Regions from separate parts of the Homo sapiens genome. Here all the other regions are linked to region 7. Evidence: promoter capture Hi-C in 16 types of primary human blood cells and fetal thymus (Javierre and others, 2016). All regions are on one chromosome and are shown on one strand. Each heading gives the region's core, a stretch centred on a gene start or on the middle of the fragment in contact. The rest is flanking DNA. Distances are from core to core; before and after follow the strand shown.

The links. The method cuts DNA at HindIII sites, captures the fragments that hold promoters and counts their contacts. A CHiCAGO score of 5 or more calls a contact.
Region 1: a contact is called between a fragment that was not itself captured here and the fragment with the promoter of PEAK1 in region 7, in 1 of 17 cell types (neutrophils). The highest score is 6.8, in neutrophils.
Region 2: the fragment with the promoter of TSPAN3 here is called in contact with the fragment with the promoter of PEAK1 in region 7 in 8 of 17 cell types (monocytes, fetal thymus, total B cells and 5 more); the score reaches 9.5 in monocytes.
Region 3: a fragment that was not itself captured here is called in contact with the fragment with the promoter of PEAK1 in region 7 in 5 of 17 cell types (neutrophils, monocytes, non-activated CD4 T cells and 2 more); the score reaches 8.2 in neutrophils.
Region 4: a contact is called between a fragment that was not itself captured here and the fragment with the promoter of PEAK1 in region 7, in 1 of 17 cell types (neutrophils). The highest score is 5.9, in neutrophils.
Region 5: a contact is called between a fragment that was not itself captured here and the fragment with the promoter of PEAK1 in region 7, in 4 of 17 cell types (total B cells, naive CD8 T cells, M1 macrophages and 1 more). The highest score is 6.9, in total B cells.
Region 6: a contact is called between a fragment that was not itself captured here and the fragment with the promoter of PEAK1 in region 7, in 2 of 17 cell types (monocytes and neutrophils). The highest score is 6.4, in monocytes.

What each region holds. Positions count from the first base shown.
Region 1 is chr15:76,967,161-76,969,860 of GRCh38, reverse strand. No RefSeq gene overlaps it. Among named protein-coding and RNA genes, the nearest start is that of PSTPIP1, 27 kb to the left of the region's middle. The HindIII fragment of the contact is 7,590 bases long and covers 1-2,700 here.
Region 2 is chr15:77,069,706-77,072,405 of GRCh38, reverse strand. It overlaps TSPAN3 (tetraspanin 3), which reads left to right and starts at 1,297. Exons shown (of 7, transcript NM_005724.6): 1 at 1,297-1,514. The coding sequence starts at 1,452. RefSeq lists an enhancer at 931-990 and a silencer at 1,131-1,830. The HindIII fragment of the contact is 12,417 bases long and covers 1-2,433 here.
Region 3 is chr15:76,987,790-76,990,595 of GRCh38, reverse strand. No RefSeq gene overlaps it. Among named protein-coding and RNA genes, the nearest start is that of PSTPIP1, 5.9 kb to the left of the region's middle. RefSeq lists an enhancer at 2,065-2,224. The HindIII fragment of the contact is 2,577 bases long and covers 151-2,727 here.
Region 4 is chr15:77,034,257-77,036,956 of GRCh38, reverse strand. PSTPIP1 (proline-serine-threonine phosphatase interacting protein 1) reads right to left here. Exons shown (of 15, transcript NM_003978.5): 13 at 1,394-1,449; 14 at 1,022-1,155. Among named protein-coding and RNA genes, the nearest start is that of TSPAN3, 36 kb to the left of the region's middle. RefSeq lists enhancers at 1,192-1,827, 1,828-2,465. The HindIII fragment of the contact is 2,024 bases long and covers 239-2,262 here.
Region 5 is chr15:77,089,493-77,092,211 of GRCh38, reverse strand. No RefSeq gene overlaps it. Among named protein-coding and RNA genes, the nearest start is that of TSPAN3, 20 kb to the right of the region's middle. The HindIII fragment of the contact is 2,467 bases long and covers 59-2,525 here.
Region 6 is chr15:77,052,095-77,054,814 of GRCh38, reverse strand. It overlaps TSPAN3 (tetraspanin 3), which reads left to right. Exons shown (of 7, transcript NM_005724.6): 4 at 536-637; 5 at 1,886-2,038; 6 at 2,347-2,430. Among named protein-coding and RNA genes, the nearest start is that of TSPAN3, 18 kb to the left of the region's middle. The HindIII fragment of the contact is 2,850 bases long and covers 1-2,720 here.
Region 7 is chr15:77,418,739-77,421,438 of GRCh38, reverse strand. It overlaps PEAK1 (pseudopodium enriched atypical kinase 1), which reads left to right and starts at 1,335. Exons shown (of 10, transcript NM_001385026.1): 1 at 1,335-1,433. HMG20A (high mobility group 20A) reads right to left here and starts at 551. Exons shown (of 10, transcript NM_001304504.2): 1 at 435-551. RefSeq lists enhancers at 50-99, 490-539 and silencers at 990-1,309, 1,560-1,729, 1,740-1,949. The HindIII fragment of the contact is 8,449 bases long and covers 1-2,700 here.

The sequences.
Region 1 (2,700 bases), core at 194-2,693, 450 kb after region 7:
AGGCTGGAGTGCAGTGGCTTGATCTGGGCTCACTGCAACCTCTGTCTCCTGGGTTCAAGTGATTCTCCTGCCTCAGCCTTGTGAATAGCTGGGACTACAGGCACGCGCCACCATACCCGGCTAATTTTTGTATTTTTTTAGTACAGACAGGGTTTCACCATGTTGGCCAGGCTAGTCTCCAATTCCTGGCCTCAAGTCATCCACCCACCTCAGTCTCCCAAAGCGCTGGGATTACAGATGTGAGCCACCACGGCAGGCTTGCCTTTTGTATTTTGATCTGAGTTCATTTTAGATGCAAATCCTGTACATCCTTATTTCACAGAGTTTTTCTATATTACCAATGTGGTCAAGACTCTCCCCTGCTTAAAACCCATCAACAGTTTTTGATCATTCATAGGATAAAGTCCAAATTCAGCTTGACAGACAGCACCCACCAGACCTGCCTGGCCCCTCATATTGGTCTATCTTCTTGTCAGAGGCATTCGAACCAGAGCGACTCCATTTTGAGTAAGGGCTAGGAAAATGGGGCTGGGAATTGCTGGGCTGCATTCTCAGAAAGTCAGGCATTCCTGGCCTCTAGATATTTACAGTTAAGGGAAAAAATTAATAATGTTTACTAAACAGACCCAGACGGGAATGTCCAGATATCCTGATATCTGGAGAACACAGGCATTCCTAATTTTGCTTTAAAGATAATAATATCAATTCTTGCAAAATATCATAATTAAGAAAATTAATCCTTTATCACAAACCCTTGTAGCAGAGCACATCTCTCCATATATACAAGCATTGTACCCAGGGTGGACGCCTTCCTCCTCTTACTTTCGGGAACGTCCTGCTCTGTCTATGGAGTAGCCGTCCTTTCACCACTTTACCTTCTTAATAAACTTGCTTTTACATTGCACTGCGGACTTACCCTGAATTATTTCTTGTGCAAGATCCAAGAACCCTCTCTTGGGGTCTGGATCAGGATGCCTTTCCTATAACATTCTGGCCCTCTCTACCCAGCACCTCTCATGCCCCTCTCTACCAAGGAGGAAGCCCACACTTCCCTGACTCTGGGCTGCCCACACATGCTCTACTCTCTGCTTAGAAGGCTTGGTATCCTTCTTTTCTTCACCTGGCTAACTGTATAGCCTGTGTGAACTTATCAGTGTCAATTCACGGATTTCCAGGCTGTGATTTTCTTTCTTTCTTTTTTCTTTTCTTTTCTTTTTTTTTTTTTTTTTAAAGAAGATGAGGCCTTTAGAACCTGGGCTGTGATTTTCTTATGTCCATCTCCTCCTCACTGATGGCACCTTCAGAGCTGGGGCTGACTTAATATCCTCAATGGCTGGGCACAGTGACTCATGCCTGTAATCACAGTGCTTTGGAAGGCCCAGGCAGGAGAATTACTTGAGCTCAGGCATTTGAGATCAGCCTGGGTGACATAGCAAAACCCCATCTCTACAAAAAATTAAAAAATTAGCCAGGTGTGGTGGCTGCTTCTGTAGTTCCAGCTACTTGGGAGGCTGAGGTGGGAGGATCTCTTGAGCCCAGGAGTTCAAGGCAGCAGTGAGCTAAGATGGCACTACTGCGCTCCAGCCTGGGAAACAGAGCAAGACCCAGTTTTATACATTTTATATACATATATATTATATATATATATACACACACACACATACATATACATATATATTTTATATATAGGTATATTATATAGGTATATTAAATACACATATATAGGTATATTATATAATACCTATATATAGGTATTATACATATACATATATATGTATCTCCCCAGTGACCAGCAGAATCCCAGTGGCTCTGTGGGCTCAGTAAATGTTTGTGGAATTAATGAATACTTGTCTTGCCTTTCCTTTCAAATAAACAAAAACAGCTCCAGGTTACAGCTGTGTCTCTTGCCAACCAGAGAAGCAGCTGCACTATAACGAAATCTCCTTGGTGTTATTCTTTTTGTTATCCTTCTGAAGGGAAAACATTTTACTCTTGTTAGGTGTTTATGAGAAAGACTGGAGCTATCATCATTGTGGGGGTGGGGAGGGGGTGAGGAGGGGGTGAGGAGGAGACTTTCTAATCCAGAAACTCAAGTAGTCCAAGAATTTTATGACAAAGTTCTGGTTCTGTTGGAAAAAACAGACTCAGAGCCAGCAAGTCTGGGCAGACAAAGGCAGGCCCTGGCTGGCGGCCCTCCCCTCTGTGGCAAGTCCATGGGCCTTCTCACATTTGGCCCCTTTAGAGTCTGGGAAGTCCCCCAGGTTCACCTCTGAAATCCCACCACCAGGGCAGGCTCTGACAGTCTCCTAGGCTACCTTCAAGACAGGTTTCCCCCAGCATGGCAAAACCAATTCTACCCCTGCCCTTCCCATTGGCGCAGGCTTTGGGGCTCCCTGCCTTTTCTCCTGTCTGCACCAAAGGTGGTGAAAGGCTTGGTTAAACTCAAATTGCAGCCTCTGCCATCTGCTGCCCCTGCAATCCTTGACCCCAGCATGGAAAGCCCTCACCGTGTGCCATCCCTGGAGAGGGGCATGTGAGGTATGTGGCTGCAGCAGTGCACACACTCACGTCTTTCCCCTTCCCCATAAACATCACCACCTTGGTGACACCACATCCAAGGAAGTGTGTGGGCAGCTCAGGAAAAGCCTGGGAGGGGAGCAGAAGTTCCGGTTTGGAAAATTCTCAAAGAACCACAGAATC
Region 2 (2,700 bases), core at 48-2,547, 350 kb after region 7:
CCCTTGGGTCCCCTCCAATGTTCTCTCCTCAGAGAGGACTCCTCTCATCACTCTATTCCTTTCCTCTGAATTGTTTCCTAACACTACCTCATGTCATATACCCACTTGCCCGTTTGTTTATGGTCTGCCTCCTCTGCCCGAACGAATGTAAGCCATGGAAGGAAGGATACGTCTTGCTCACAGTGGAATATCCACCACCGACAACAGTGAGGCCCAGAGGGGACACGCGGCAAGTTTGATGAGTGAATAAATGGCTGTTGCTGCTGCTTGGTGTAAATGCACAGGATGCTGAGATTAACAGGTACTTCTGAGAGTGCCTGGGAAAGGTGATGAGTGGGGGAGATTGCATGAGAGCGAGCTGATAAAGACCAGTAAATGGAAATCCTTACGGGCGCGGTCAAGGAGGGAGTGCAGGATTATAATGGCAGGAAAGACAGCAAACAGAGGCAGTTTATTGTGTGACTGATGATGTGTTTTTTGCACTAGACCACTTACTATGTGTGGCTCTGGGCGAACTTCTTAACCTTTCTAAGCCTCAATTACCCGATCAGTAAAATGAGGCTGATAACCATAGTGCCTTCCATCCAGGGTTGTGGTGGGGGTTAAATGAACTAATGGAGCCTGGCACCGGGTGAGCACCCAATAATTAATTGCTATGACGGATTCAAGATTGGGGGAAGAATGTGAAATGTTGCAATGCAAAGAGATGTTTCTGTAATCGTTGCGAATCTTGGTCCAAAACTTACTACCCTGGAATAGAACTTGTTCCCAACCACTCACCCACACAAACATGTCTCTGCCTTGCTAACGCCATCACCAGCCTTTTCTCCTCTCTGACTCTTCTGAGGTCTAGCCCAGCGCCTGGTACAATAAGTTTCTCCATAAGTATTTGTTGTTTTTCTTTGCACTTCTCACCAACAGTGCTGCCAAGATTTTAACCTGGTCAGGAGAATCTGGTCAGGCAGAGATTAGTGTCTCCAACCTTCCTAGGGGAGAATGGGCTAGGTAGAAAGATAGCACTCAGAGGGCTCTGAATCATCTATAAGGGTGGCATAGTCATAGGAGGAGAGTGGGTTTGGTCCACCAGAACCTCCCTAGGGAGCCATCTGCGTCCAAGGGCGGCCAGAGGCCAAGAAAAGGCGCTGAGGCCTTGGCTCCTTTAAGAGGCGTGGCCTCACTGCAGCCTCCGCAGAGGCGATTGGCTGAAGCTACCGGCCGCGTGGGGCGGGACTCGGTTGCCAGGGAGCGGCGCGGGAGCCCTGAGGGGACTGCGGCGGCTGCGCGGAGGAGCGAGGCACTTGCTGGGGTCGGGGCTGCGCGACGGCGCAGGGGCTGCGGGGAGCGCCGCGCAGGCCGTGCAGTTCCTAGCGAGGAGGCGCCGCCGCCATTGCCGCTCTCTCGGTGAGCGCAGCCCCGCTCTCCGGGCCGGGCCTTCGCGGGCCACCGGCGCCATGGGCCAGTGCGGCATCACCTCCTCCAAGACCGTGCTGGTCTTTCTCAACCTCATCTTCTGGGTGAGCGGGGCCGGGCAGAGCGAGGGGCCGGCGGCGGGGCCGGGCGAGGCCGCGGCGGAGGCGCCCGTGGGGGCCGGGCTTGGGCCTGGGCGGGCGCGCGGGGGCCGCGCGCGGGCCCTCAGGCGGCTGAGGCGAGGGGAGGGCCGGGTGTGAGGCCGCTTCGCGAGGTCCCTGCCGGACCAAGCCGGGAGCCTGGGCGCGGAGGACAGCGAGGGGAGGCCTTCAGGGACTCCACGGCCTCCAGCCGGCGCCTCCGCGCTCGGCCCACGCGGGCTGGCTCCGTGCCAGGCGCCCCAGTCTCCCCCCCCCGGAGTCGCCGGCTGGACGGAGAGCGCTTATTGCAGACTGTAGCAGGACGTCGGGCTCGAAATAGGATCTTCGCCAGAGGCTCAGGTTCCGCGCTCTTTGTCGGGGCCTCGCAGACGAGTGGCCGTCCCGAGGCGGGCAGATCCGCGGGGACGCTGCGGAGCCGGGGCGGGGGTTCCACTTAACGCCCTTTGTGTGTGGAGAACCGGCTGACTGTCACCAGCCCAGAAAATGAAGGGTTTCAACTCGAGGAGCCAAATAATCCATTGACCAAGAACATCGGTCTATTTGTTTTGGTCATGGGGGTGACCAAACTGTGAGATTATAACTCTTGGTTAAATATATGATGGAGATGTCACAAGATTTTGAAAGTGATGAGTTCACTTTCAATAAAAGGTGGCTTATGAATTTTTAAGGGGTACACCCTCTTTGAAAGGAATGTTTATGTCATCTTAGTTTGGGTCCTTATCTCATCAGGGACTTTTATAGTAACCTAAGTTGTTCCTATCCGTCTCTCCACCCTCCAGCCCATCTGGACTTTGCACCCGGATAAATCTTTTAAAACGTTTCCTCTATCACATCACTTGATCTGAAAATAAGGAAAACAGAAGCTTCAGCGGTAGAATAAGGTTCAACTCCTTCCCCTGGTCTTGGAGCAGAAGTCCTCAGTCTGGTCCCAAATCACCTTGCCTCTCTGAACTTGTCATTTCCTTAAACACTTGAGTGCCCTGGACAGATTGCTCTGTCCACAGTCGCCAGAGCACTCCTTGAACATTCCGGTTAACCATACTGTGCCTCTTCCTCCTCCCCATTCAGCTCCTCCCTCCCACGCATACGCACACCTGTTCTGGAAAGAATCCTTTCCTCCTCCCCCGACCCC
Region 3 (2,806 bases), core at 190-2,689, 430 kb after region 7:
GTCCCAGCCTACTCTTCAAAACTTCAACTCCCATTATGCCTCTCTCAATTTCTGATACTGCTTCCTGGACCATCTTTCAATTCCTCCATTCTGCCTCATTCTCTTCTTTCCCGGGTCCTTCACACATGATCACCCCTCTGCCTGGAAGCTTCTTCCCGTTCCATCCTAGACCCTGCCTTGGCCCAGCTAACTACTCCTTATCCCTTGGCCCTCTTATCAAATGTCACCTCTTCAGGAAAGCCTTTCCTGACCAATAAATGGATGGACAAATGGACAAAATGCAGGCAAGATGGAAAGCAAATAAACATCTTTTTTCTTTTTTCCTTTTTTTTTTTTTTTTTTTTTGGGACAGTGTCTCGCTCTGTCGCCCAGGCTGGAGTGCAGTGACACAGTCTTGGCTCACTGCAGACTCTGCCTCCCAGGTTCAAGCAGTTCTCCCAGCCTCAGCCTCCCAAGTAGCTGGGATTACAGGCATGCACCATCATGCTTGGCTAATTTTTATATTTTTAGTAGAGACAGGGTTTCACAGTGTTGGCCAGGCTGGTCTCAAACTCCTGACCTCAGGTGATCTGCCTGCCTTGGCCTCCCAAACTGCTGGGATTATAGGTGTGAGCCACTGCACCTGGCCGAATAAACACCATTTTGAAGGAAGTTCAGCCAAGTTCTCAGGGGCTGGAAGAGAAGACGTTGTTGGGGGAATAGCTCTCAGAGGTGAGGCTGACACCAAGCTGGAGGGCGGGACTGCACTCTGAGGGTCCTAAGATTCTAATTTGTTATCCAGGAAGAATCTAAAGCGAGAGCTTCCAGCCTTCTGAAGAGGGGCAGGGGCTGGAAAGAAGAGGGAGAGAAGGAGGGTCTGAAAGCTCTTTGGTGACATTCGAAGAGCCAGGAGGCCCTTGCCATGAATTTCATTTGGAGATGGCATTGCCACTGGTCCAAGGGGTAGGGCAAGTGACGCACGCTTCTCCCTTCTGCAGGGGAGCATCTGTCCTGCAGGAGTAATTCTCAACCTGCCATCAGCTTATGGCCAGAAGGGCATTCATGAGTCGGCCATTTAGACCTCGGTGGATGCACTGTCATGACGCTGCCCATGGCTGTAGGGTTGTGCACCCATCCCATGGCTGAAGTGGGATGTTCCAGCACCTGGCCATGATGGTTCACTATTGCTGGGGGAAATACCTGTAGGGTCCCTCCAGGTGGCCAGAGGCACATGCCTACTGTACTGGGGCAACCACTGTCCACCCCACTTACCCTGTCCCAGATTGGAACAAGCTCCACTGCAGCACACCCACCAGCACTGACTGAGCCTTCCTGTCTGGGAACATGCAAATGAACAAGCTCAGCCCCTGCCAGTCTGGTGAGGGAGGCAGCCTAGGAAGGGAAAATGTGCTGTGCGCAGACAACAGAGAAAGGCTGTTGAGGAGCCTGGCCTGGGAAGTCCTCCCAAAGGAGGGGAGCTGGGTCTTGATTAATGGGAAAGAGCTCACCCGTGAGGCAGGAAGGGAGTTCCAGAATAACGCTAATAGTCTACTAGGGCTGTGCTGCATCAGGCTCTGCTGTAAGCACTTCCCATGCCTTATGTATCACTTAATCTTCCCAACAACAGTGTGAGGCATTACGGCCACATTCAACAGATAAGGAACCTGAGGCTTAGACAGGTCAGTTAACTTTTCGGAGTCCCATCGCTAAAAAGGGTCTTTCCTCCCCAGAGTGTGGGGCTGGCAGTGAGGGGCCAGGGCCTGGGGCAGAAACAGGATGAGGAAGAAGGGAAAAGCAAGTCCCCACTGAGGAGGAAGTGCAGAGCCCATGCGGGGTGGGGGTGTGGCGCTCAGATGGAGGCTCCTCTCCTCTGACTCCAGGAAATATCCTTGCCCCAGAGTCCTCCACTGGGGCTGAGGGTGTGGCCTTTGGCCTTCAGGATGTGATACAGTTTGTTTTTCAGTTTGCCCCCAGGGACAGCAGTTGCAAAAACTAAGGCCTCTTCCCACTCACACAGCTCGCCTGAGTTGACGAGGAGCTTTCAGGTTTACTAATTTGCAGCCACAAGAGTGTGACTCTGAGTTTCCAAGCATTATCAGTCGTCAGAAGCCGAGTGCCGGTCAGGATTCTTGAAAGACAGCAAAGAGGTGCAAAGTGGCCCTTCGGGAGGTGGCCCAGGAACTGGTGGGCATGGGGAAGGGGCCTCAGTGAGTCCCAGGAATCCACTGCCACCCGATCACTGGTCAGAGGACGGAGGACTGCAGTGATGGAAGAGCCTGCAGGGACTATCTGGAGGTGCTCAAACAGCACAAAGTGTGCCTACCAGAAGTGGGACTTTGTTAAAAAAAAAAAAAAAAAAAAAAGCAAAAGGCCAAGTCCCAACCTTGGCCTACTGACTGGGTGGGGCCAGGGAGTATAGATTTTAGGTTTCGTAAGTGAGTCAGTCATACACCTTGGAGGAGAACTCCTGCTATTGCCTTACTTTCTCATTTTACAAATGGGAAACTGAGGCCCAATAAGTGGGGTAGCAGGGCCCAGAGGGGGACCAGTAGAATGATCTCACTGACAGGGAAGGAAAGGCATAACCATCTCCCACCCCCCAACCCCTTTTCTAGCCTGTTTTGTTTTGTTTCCATTATGGCAGCTGTCTCTCAAAACAGCTTCAAAAATGTGTTTCTAGCATCCTCTCCCCCCTTGGGTTGGTTTTAATTCAGGTGGAAAATGACTTGTTCACAGTAAAGCAAAGCTTGATTTCAGCCCAGCTGGTGTTTAATTTTCCCTGAAAACCTAGGATTCAGAGGCAGGAGACCCCAACTTCAGTCTTGGC
Region 4 (2,700 bases), core at 1-2,500, 380 kb after region 7:
TAAATGCGGCATGTCTCCCAGGGTGGGCAGGGGCAGCCCCTTGGGGACACAGGATGGGGGTAACCCAACGGACCGGGCCTCCCATCCCCCTCAGTTTGTCATCATAGTTCTCCCCCAACCTGGGTTTCTTCCCAGCCTCACCTCCCCTCTCCCATTCTGGAGACGCAGTGACTGGAGCATGTCAGGGGTCACGGGTGCTCATCATACCCCAAGCCCAGGGCACACTCATGCCTAAGCTTACCACAAGCCTCCCCTTTGCGGTCCCCAGCCCCAGCTAGCCACTGCCATCCAAGTACCCCATCACTCTCCTGGCCTGGCTTCCCTGCCTCCCCGAGCCCTGGCCTCATCAGTGGAGTCCACACCCAGCCTGCCTGGCTATGTGGGGGTGCTTGGCCTCAGTCCAGGTGGATGTGAGGTCTGGCTATGCATTCTTCCCCTCAAGCAGGGAGCAGAAAGGACTCTCATAGCTGCCCTGTGGCTGCCTTGGTTCATCCTCACCCTATGGACATCAGAAAATCAATCCTGGCACGATAGCAAGACTCATTCTGGCCACAGTTTTCCACACCCATGGCCACGAAGGACAGGGCCCTGACCCAAAGGCACAGAGCCTGGCCCTCAAGCTATGACCTGCAGGCAGCTCCAGGCTCTGCCAGCTCCCCGCACGTGTGCACCACTCAGCGCCCAGCCTGTGTGGACGGCATAGGTACATGTGCTCCACGTGTGTGCTGTGTACAGGCCCGGGCAGACACAGGCCTGCTGCACACCAGCTTCCAGTCAGTACATGCACACTGAGGCCCCGCAAGCCCTGGGTGCTGTTCTCAGAGCTCACATCCAAGCACACTCCCAGGTACCCTTGCTAGTGTGGACACACTCGGGCACACGTGCCCTCCTGAGGAGGAGAGGATGCTCGAAGATGAGTGAAACCATGAGGAGAGATGAGGACGCAAGGCACTGGATGGGAGAGGGAGCTCTCAGGTGCAGGGGAGGTGGCACAGGTGGGTTTGGGGTATAGAGGCCTCACCTGCGCTGTATAATCGTAGAGCGCCCGGTACTCCTGGGCTGGTGAGGCCGGGTTTCCCTGTATCTCCTGCACTGCGATGGCTGTGTAGACACCCTCATTCCGCTCGGGGGTGGGGGTCAGGGTCTCTGTGGACGCTAAGAGCAGGGTGAGACATAGACCCCTCCCCTTCTGGGGACACTGGCCCCTGGAAGTCCTACTAGAATGGGGTTTCTCCATGCTGGGCCCTGCCTCTTCCTTCTGCTGTCCACACTTGCTGTTGGGGGACACACACTTCCTCTTGAGGGCCTCAGTGGCCCCATCTGTGCCATGTGGGAGACCTCTCCTCCCCCCCAGGATCAGTGTGTTTGGGGGTCCCCTCCTGACCCCCTTTACCAGCAGAAGCTGCCAACGAAGTGGTCTTGGGACTTCCGTGCAGCAGTCCAGAGAACCTGGGAACAGGGAGGAAAGAGGGTGAGTGTCCCCGCCCCACACTCAGGGACCCACCAGGAGGGAGGGTTTAGACAGGGAGAGGTCTCAGAGCTGCACGCGCTCTGCCAGGGCTGGGACTGCCCCTAGCCTCCAGGCATGGATGTCATTTATGAGGTGCCCCTCAGGCAGGAGGGCTCCCCAGAAAGTAGTCCTGGTGGCTCCTCCTTCCCCAGCTACGCCCTCCACTGGCGCCCTCTGCAGGCCATCTCAGCACCTGCTCCCTGCAGGGCCCTTGGGAGGATCCTAGAACCCCCGAAGCTGTAGCTTCATTGGAAGACTCCCATGGCCCTTTGGGGGTTCTAGGACCTCCGCACTGAGGCCTCGTGGGAAGATGCCCAGTCCTCACCCTCCAGGCCCCTGCTCTAGCTTGCCCTAGCAGCTTCCCCCATGGGTAGGGGTGGGGGGTGCACTGCCACACAAAGCCTGGCTCACGTGCCCTGCTGAGGCCTCCACTGCCTGGGCCGAGCCAGCCCTCCTCCCTGTGGGCCCACGGTGATCAGGCCAGCTCAGCCACCCTGTTCACAGGAGTTCCGGGACAGCGCTGGGCTACTTTACCCCTGCCCCTGCACCAGGCTTAGGCCTGGACTGAGCTGGGGTCATGAAGGTTTACTGAATAAAGGAAAATAAAACAGAAGAGGCAGATGCGGCAGATGCTGGGGGCACCCCCTGAAGTGGGCAGTAGTGAGGGCTCAACAAGTAGAGGCTGACACTGCCTCCAAGGCAAGAGGGCTTCTTAGTGGGGTGGGGCTGAGTCTTCAAAGATGAGTGAAGCTTTACTAGGAGAGAAGGGGGAGCGAGGCACTGCAGGTGACCAGGAGAGGGAGGGCTCAGGTGCAGGGGAGGAGGCATGGCACAGGTGGGGTTTGTGGAGTGGAGTGGACCAATTTGGGTGTGTGGGGGACAGGACTGAAATAGAGACTGGACCAGACCCTGAGGGATCTTGAATGCAGGTGAGGGGCTGAGCCATGACTCAGGGGCCTGTGGGGGGCAGCCCTGCAATTCAAGGTGGCATGTGGGGGGCCTTTCCCACATGAGGCGCCGAGGGCCAAGGCCCCAGGAGTGCACACACATGCGCAGGGTGGACATGCGTGGACCCAGCACATGGGAGGGCCTGACACCAACACAGGCGGGCAGACACACGTGCCAGCTCCCCAGGCAGCAAAGGACAGGGTGCAAGCCAGCAGGGGCTGGGGACAGGTGGAGGAAGCGGC
Region 5 (2,719 bases), core at 43-2,542, 330 kb after region 7:
ACGAAAATATATAAATTAATGATTTAGAAAAATAAAGTAGAACTGATAAAATTAAGCTTTGATTAGACTCTATTGCATCTAAGAAAAAAGAGAAAACACAAATATTTATCATTAGTAAAGGCAAGAGGGATTACACAACTGCAAATACAGAGGCAATTGTATAGATTATAAGCAAATAATATGTGTAACATGATGCTAAAATTTGAAAACTTAGATAAAGCAGATATTATGGATAAAAATGGATATATTTCTAGAAATATGTAAATTACCAAATAGGCTCAATAAGAGATAAAAAGCCTGAGTGGTGGAAGGGTGTGGTGTCTCACTCCTGTAATCCCAACACTTTGGGAGGCCAAGATGGGTGGATGACCTGAGGTCAGGAGTTCGCAACCAGCCTGGCCAACATGATGAAACCCCGTCTCTACTAAAAATACAAAAATTAGCCGGATGTGATGGTGTGCTCCTGTAATCCCAGCTACTTGAAAGGCTGAGGCAGGAGAATTACTTGAACACGGGAGGCAGACATTGCAGTGAACCTAGACTGTGCCACTACACTCCAGCCTGGGCGACAGAAGAAGACTCCGTCTCAAAAAACAGCAACAATAACAACAACAAAACCTGAGTGGCCCTGTTACTAGAGAAGAAATTGAAAAGATCGTTCAGGGTCTACCAACCAAAACACATAAATACCTAGATGACTGAAGGCAAAATCTGACAAACTTTCAACACACTGATAATCTTATTAAACTATATAGAACATAAAGATGGAAATACACTCTTTTGCAAGTCTGCATACCAAAATCTGATACACAAAACACACAAAGGAATTACAGTTCCAAGCAGGAAGGCTGGAGCACACACTGCCGTTGTTGCAGCTGGAAGCGCCAAGCAGTGTTCACTTGGACACATGGGTGGCCTGTCACCCAAACACAGCTGTGGGGATAATTCACCTCCTGTGGTCCTGTCCTCCTGTCACTCAAACTATGCTCCACATCTATGGCTTCAGGGGTGTTCCTTGTGGCCAGTTGACAGAGGAAGATAATAATTGAGTAGAGTTTACCCCAACTGGTTCAGTAAAAGTGCACAGCTGCAGTGTTACTCTCCCACTCAGGAGTGGCCCCAAAAGACAGTGTGGAGAACAAATCCTCTCAGGAGTGGAATTTAGAGCGTTACATCTTGAACACTTTCCCCAAAGGCCAGATGGCCTGAGATATAGATCTACACTGGCTCATGGGCAGTAGGTCATGGTTTTGCTGGACAAACAAGGACTCCAGAACAAGATGCGAGATTGGAGACAGGATGGTTTGGGGAAGAGAATGTGCATGGATCGCTCAGAACTGACCCAGAGGCAATGAGTATTTGTGTGCCATGTGGATTCTCTCCAAAATGTCCTCACTGTGGAGCAAGTTCTCAATAATCAGGTGGACAAGAAGACCCACCCAGTGGATGAGTAAATGTCTATAAGTCTCTTTCCTCGGTCACCCTTGTACCCACTCAGGAATAAAGTAGTTTTGGATGCAGCAGCCACCTATCCAAGTGAGGACCTAATGGCCTCTCCAAAGGTGAAGCAGCCACTGGCACCGATGAGGGTCTAACTTTCAGCAGTAGAAACCAGTTCTGCAAATCTGATATTATACCACAGTGAGGAGGACCAGTTAGCTACTTGATGGAAAGTTAGTTTTACTGGGGCTCCTTCCATCGTGGAGGGGCAGGAACTTGACGTCACTGGAATAACTACTTATATTGGAGTTGAATATGCATCCTGTCTTTACTGTGTTTCCATCAACACCACCATCAGTGGCCTGAATAATGTCCTCCACTCCATCATAGCAACCCATACAACACTGTTTCTGCCCTAGGATCAGGTGTACAGTCAAAGAAATGGAGCAGTGGGTTGATAGTCATGGGATTCACTGGTCTTTTCATACATGTAGGAGCAGCTGGCCCTATAGAAGAGTAGAATGGGCTGTTAAAGGATCAGTCCCAGCCAGGTGCGGTGGCTCACACCTGTAATGATAACACTTTGGGAGGCCGAGGTGGGCAGATCGCCTGAGCTCAGGAGTTTGAGACCAATCTGGGCAACGTGGCGAAACCCCATCTCTACTAAAAATACAAACAATTAGCCAGGCATGGTGGTGTATGCCTGTACACCCAGCCACTCGGGAGGCTGAGGCAGGAGAATCACTTGAACCCAGCAGGCAGAGGTTGCAGTGAGCTGAGATCGCACCACTGCACTCCAGCCTGGGCGACGGAGCGAGACTCTGTCTCAAAAAAAAAAAAAAAAAAGGATCAGTCCCAGCACCCTGGTAGACAACATTTTGTGAATTTGGGACACTGTCCACCAGCGTTTGGTATGTGAGCACAACCAGCAACCAATTTATACTGATCACAGCAATCTTGGCACCAAAGCATGGATGTGGGAATGGTGCCCTTCACTAATAACACCTTTTCAATAAATGCGCTTCTTGTTCCCACAGCTCTGCGCTTGTTGGTTTACAGGTTTTGATATCCAAAGGAGTAAAGCTTCAATGTGAGTAAAACACAATGGCTGCCTAAACAGGAAGTTAATACTGACAGCCCACCACTACGGGCTCTCCATGGTACTGGACAAACAGGCCCAAAGAGAGGTCAAGGCTTTGGCTTCAATGACTGATTTAGACCCGTGCTGCCCAATACTGTGGCCACTAGCCACACGTGGCTATTATATTTAAATTATCTT
Region 6 (2,720 bases), core at 141-2,640, 370 kb after region 7:
TAGCTTTTTCATAAAGTGCCATTTCTAAGGACTGATTTTTTTAAACCTGCCGATTACTTTTGCACATTTAGCCAACTCTAAACGTTGAATAAATAAAATGGAAATAATGTTGGCATTTGTCCTAAAAGTATCTTACAGGAGCTTCAGAGTTACTTTGTTTTACCTCCTTTAGGAAAGGAAAATGAGTAACTTATTTGTAAAAGGAAGGCATCCATTTATAATTTAGGACATCTATCCCAAGCCTCAACTTTTCTCCCTTTTGAATACATTGTTAGCCTGCCATTTTGCACACAATCTTCTCTTTGAATGCTTGAATGTATGTGGTATATGTCTGAATTTTTACCTGTCACTTTTCTCCCTCCTGCCTTCATCTATATCTATATGAAGATGAAGGCAGGAAGGGAGAAAACTTTACAGGAAATTCATAGATATCTGGCAACTTGCAAACATTTCATTTAAGTATTTTAGTAGGAGCCTTGACTAATGTTACTTTTACTAGTATTTTTGAGGGACTGAATTCTTTGTTCTGATTCAGGTGGAAAATGAGGTTGATCGCAGCATTCAGAAAGTGTATAAGACCTACAATGGAACCAACCCTGATGCTGCTAGCCGGGCTATTGATTATGTACAGAGACAGGTGAGCTTTCTTGAGGCAGATTTGTTTTTGAGGACCAATCACGATTGGGTCAACATTAAACTAACTGCTATTTCTGTGTAAATTAGCCATGTTTCTTCACATACATGGCTATCCTGATGTGACCAATATTTTTCCCCAACCTTCACCCTTGAAAAGTTTATTTCATCACCTAGCCAGATGAGAAACATCTTGAACTTTTTTTTATCATCTGATTTCCCCTTCCCTGACCCCAGTCTGTACTCTCCCAAAGTACTTAGCCAAAGGGGTGATGACGCAAGAGAGAGGTATGTGTCACAGGAAAGGTGGGAGTCCAGATTGACTCCAGGGGAGGTGGGAGGTCTATATATACCTTTAGAAAACAAGATAAGAAAAGGCAACAGAAAAACTGTCAAAAAAAAGTTGTTATGGACAGTCTGATACACACAAAGGTAGAAAGAATAGTGTAATAGATGTTTGCACCCCGACCTTGCCTCAGTAATATCAACTTTTCGTCAGTCTTATTGCCCCTACTTACTTTTTGCTTCATTATCTTAAAGCAAATCTCAAAATTTTTAAGACCAAATATTTTAAATACTTTGTCATTGGAAATAATATTTAACATGGAACCAGATATTTAACATGTAAGACATGAAGATTTTCCTTAGTTAGAAACTACCGCTTATAGGCAATGTACTTTTCTTTTCTTTTTTTTTTTTTTTTTTTTTTTTTTTTTTTTTTTTTTTTTTTGAGATGGCGAAATTTCACTCTTGTTGCCCAGGCTGGAGTGCAGTGGCGCGATCTTGGCTCACTGCAACCTCCACCTCCCGGGTTCAAGTGATTCTCCTGCCTCAGCCTTTGTATTTTTAGTAGAGACGGGGTTTCACCATGTTGGTCAGGCTGGTCTTGAACTCTTGACCTCAGGTGACTCGCCCATCTCGGCCTCCCAAAGTGCTGGGATTACAGGCGTGAGCCACTGCACCCGGCCTGGCAATGTACTTTTCATATGGAGATTCTGGAGCCACTAGCCATGTCTGGCTGTTTACATTAAAATTTAAAATGCAGTTTTCTAGTCACACTAGCCACAATTTAAGTGCTCAGTAGAGCTTCATGTGGCTAGTGGCTGCTATATTGGATCATGCAGACTTTCCATTATAGAAAGTTGTATCGGACATCACTGGTCTAGAGTAGCTTATTTTAAAGCTCTGTAGTACATGGAACTTCAGGTATTTGGTTTTTGTGAGAAATAATACTTATTCTCTTCTCCTTTAGCTGCATTGTTGTGGAATTCACAACTACTCAGACTGGGAAAATACAGATTGGTTCAAAGAAACCAAAAACCAGAGTGTCCCTCTTAGCTGCTGCAGAGAGACTGCCAGCAATTGTAATGGCAGCCTGGCCCACCCTTCCGACCTCTATGCTGAGGTGAGTCTCTTGGCCACGACTTGAGTCTAGCTTGATTAACCTGTTTTTCACCATGTCTTATCACCATCTGGGACTTCTTTTCTGCCACCTTGCTTGTCTTTAATGTCATATATTGTTTTACTGTAAATTATTATAAAATGCATGTCTTTGTTTTAATTACATGTCTGTAAATTATACCAATCATGGAATCTTTTTTCCACTCTTTCAGTTTCTGTCATTTTCCTTTCTGTAAGTGGGTAGTGGCCTGTGAATCTGCAGCTTTAACTTTTAAAGAACACTTCTAACGAGGATGACTGTGTTTGTTACAGGGGTGTGAGGCTCTAGTAGTGAAGAAGCTACAAGAAATCATGATGCATGTGATCTGGGCCGCACTGGCATTTGCAGCTATTCAGGTAAGCACAGCTTGCCAAGGAGTTCTATCGGAGTGAGTTGGTTCTCTGTTGTCAGCCCTGAATGGTTTTAATCCCCATCACAGTGAATCTTTGTGTATGTAGGTAATGTGGAAGTGACTGAGGTACTGGCCTCCAGTTTCCCATGTTTTCCATTTCTTGTCTATACACCTAGACCCGGAATGGTCTAAAGAAACCAGAAATCTGGATGGGGAGGGACCACGTGTTGAGGGAACTCCTCGTCTTACTGTCTTTCTTGATTAGTGAGTGACCTGTTCAAAACATAAACGAAC
Region 7 (2,700 bases), core at 86-2,585:
TGAAGAAAACACAGACAATTTTGCTGGGGAGGAAATGCTCCATATTCCACGTGGAAGCAAACTCATAAATTCTGACTGCAGGTTGGTGTTCAGCACAACTTGGAATAATCTAACTTTTCACATAAAACACAATCCCCAAGCTGCAAGATAATGTCTCCGCGAATGGCACCAAGCACCACCTTTTCAAGCCCTCATCAGCACTGGAAGTGGGTCGGACACCCCCAAACCATCACCACCCCCCCACAGGAAGTGAGGGTGTCCCCCCTCCCCAGGACGGCCTTCCTCCCCTCCCCCAACCGGAAGTTGAGGCGCCCCCATTCAGCCGGCCTCCAACTGAGACAAACCAGTACCACCACCACCAAAAGAGGGGTGATCTTCAAGGGGTGAAGGGCATCTCGACTGGGGCCACCCCCAAGCTCGCCTTGCTTACTGACCTGCTGACGACAGGGGCAGGAAGGGGCCTAGGGCCAAAAGAAAGTCCCTTCCACAGAGGACAATTCCCTCAGCCCCTCTCAATCGCCTTCACTTCACGCACTCGTCGTCTCACAGCTGGACAAAAATTCTTCCGCAGCACTTTATTTTGGTGTCCTTTCCTTTTCTTTACCTAATCTCTTAACCACCTTTCCACAGGTAACTCCTCTTACCGCATAGCATTTACAATTGCTCCGGTGAGAAGAAAAATGAAATATTTTCCACGGTACCTTCACAAAAATGAAGGGATTATTTTGCCCCAATGCGGCGAAGGACTACGTGGTTACGCAAGGTGAGCCTTATTTTCGTGGAGGTTTCTGGGAGATGTAGTTTTTTTTTTTTTATTGCGAAGGCCCGCAGAAAGTAGAAGAACTGAAATTGGTCATGACTACATATTAGCGTCCTCGAAAACATATTCTGTATTCGATGACGGCTGACCTAGCGGGCCCCGACGCCCAAATGGGCCCAGACTCCCCTGGTCTTTTCCTCTGCGGCTTAATCGAACCCAAATTTTCCCTCACGCGGGCCCAAGGTCTCGGCAGCCCCGCCCCTTGTCTTAGCCCCGCCCTCCGCAGCCAATCAGGCACCCTTTAGGTCTCGTCCTCTGGAGGTTGGAAGGCAGAGAGGAGGGGCCTGGCGGTGACTCCTCCCGCTGGGGCTGAGGGAGACCTGGGAGACGACCGGGGCCCGTGAGCGCGCGCGTGCTCACGGCTCCAGGAGCGCGGCGAGCGGGCGAGGGCGCGCGCGGAGGGGCGGCGCGCGGGGCCGAGAGGAGGCGGGCAGGCTGGTGGGCTGGGCGGGCGGCGAGCGGCCGGGAGCGCGCGGTGGACTCGGCCGCGGCGAGTAGTTAGTTAGTTGTTGTTAGTCAGTGTCAGTTGCTCGGCGGCGGCGGCCGTGGTCACCAGGAAGGGGACGGGACGGACGGTGATGGTGGTCGCCGCGGCGGCGTGTGCGCCCCTCAGGTAACAGCGGCCCGGCTGTCCGCGTCCGCTCGGTTGTCTTCTACTCACGCGCCGTCTGTGGGACCAGGGTTGCCGCGGGTTGAGGGCGCTGACCCGGGGGAATCCGGGCGGGGCGGCGCGGGTTCTGGGTGGCGGCGCGGGTTCTGGGTGGCGCCGCCGCCGGGGCTCTGGCGGCCGGTGCGTCCCGCCCGGCGCGGGCTCTAGCTCCCCGGCCACCCCCGCGCCCCGCCGGTGCCGCGCGCCCCCTGCCGCCCCTGCCCCCTCCCTCGGCGGCGGCCCCGGGAGCGCGACGCCCCCCAGAGGAAGGAAAGTTGGGACCTGCCGCGAGGGACGCCCCCGGGCGCGGCTGGGAGGTTGCGGGGGAAAGTGAAGCCTGGAGGAGCTGGACGCGGGGAGGCCGGGGCAGGAGGGGCTTCTCTGGCTCCTGCCGGGTCCACACGGTCAGCCCGCTCCCGCACCCGGGAGCATCGGCGCAGCCTCGCCGGCAGCGTCGGGACGGAGCCGGGTGGCTCCCTGCCTGCTCCCTTCGCGCCGCGGCTGGGGAGCCCGCGAACGTGTGGGCTGGCGGGGTCGTTTGGGGGTTGTGAGTGGTTCGGCTGCTCAGTTTTTTTCTTTTCTGCCCTTTGACCCATCCGTTCTTGCAACTTTTCTTTCCTCCTTCGATGGGGACTTGCCGTCTGAACCGCGTCTGCCCCCTCCCCTCTCGTCGCATGCACCATCCGTCTGGGAGCTTGATTTCGTTTTTTCCTCCTTTGGCTACGTTAAAGATTGCTGAGAGCACCGGGAGAGACCCTCCTCCCCCGCCTGCCTCTGGCCTGTTAAATGTTACTTTTTGCGATTCGTTGTTTTTTAAAGATCCAAGTTCAGGAATTTGAGAGCTGTGGAATGGAGTTATTGGAAGGCTGACGTTGAGGGGGTAGTGATGAGTTAGAGGAAAACTATGATTTCATCTTTATTGGCCTTGCTATAGAAAACCTAATTGATTTTTTTTCTGCCTCTGTTGAATGTGGTAAGATCATACGTTGAATTAAATACTTAGAGACTTACATAAAAGACTATTTTTAGGTCATTGGATGATGTACGTGAACAGCTTTTCACCTGAATTGGGATTGCCTTGAGGATTCTGTTTTGGGGCCTACTTACTGATTTTTGTTCAGCCACAGCGTCTTTTTTTTTCCCCCGATAAATGAAGTGATGTAGTGATGTGTATAGTCAGAGAACCCATATTGCTCTCTGCAGTGTGGAAGTGAAAAACGTGAATTATCCA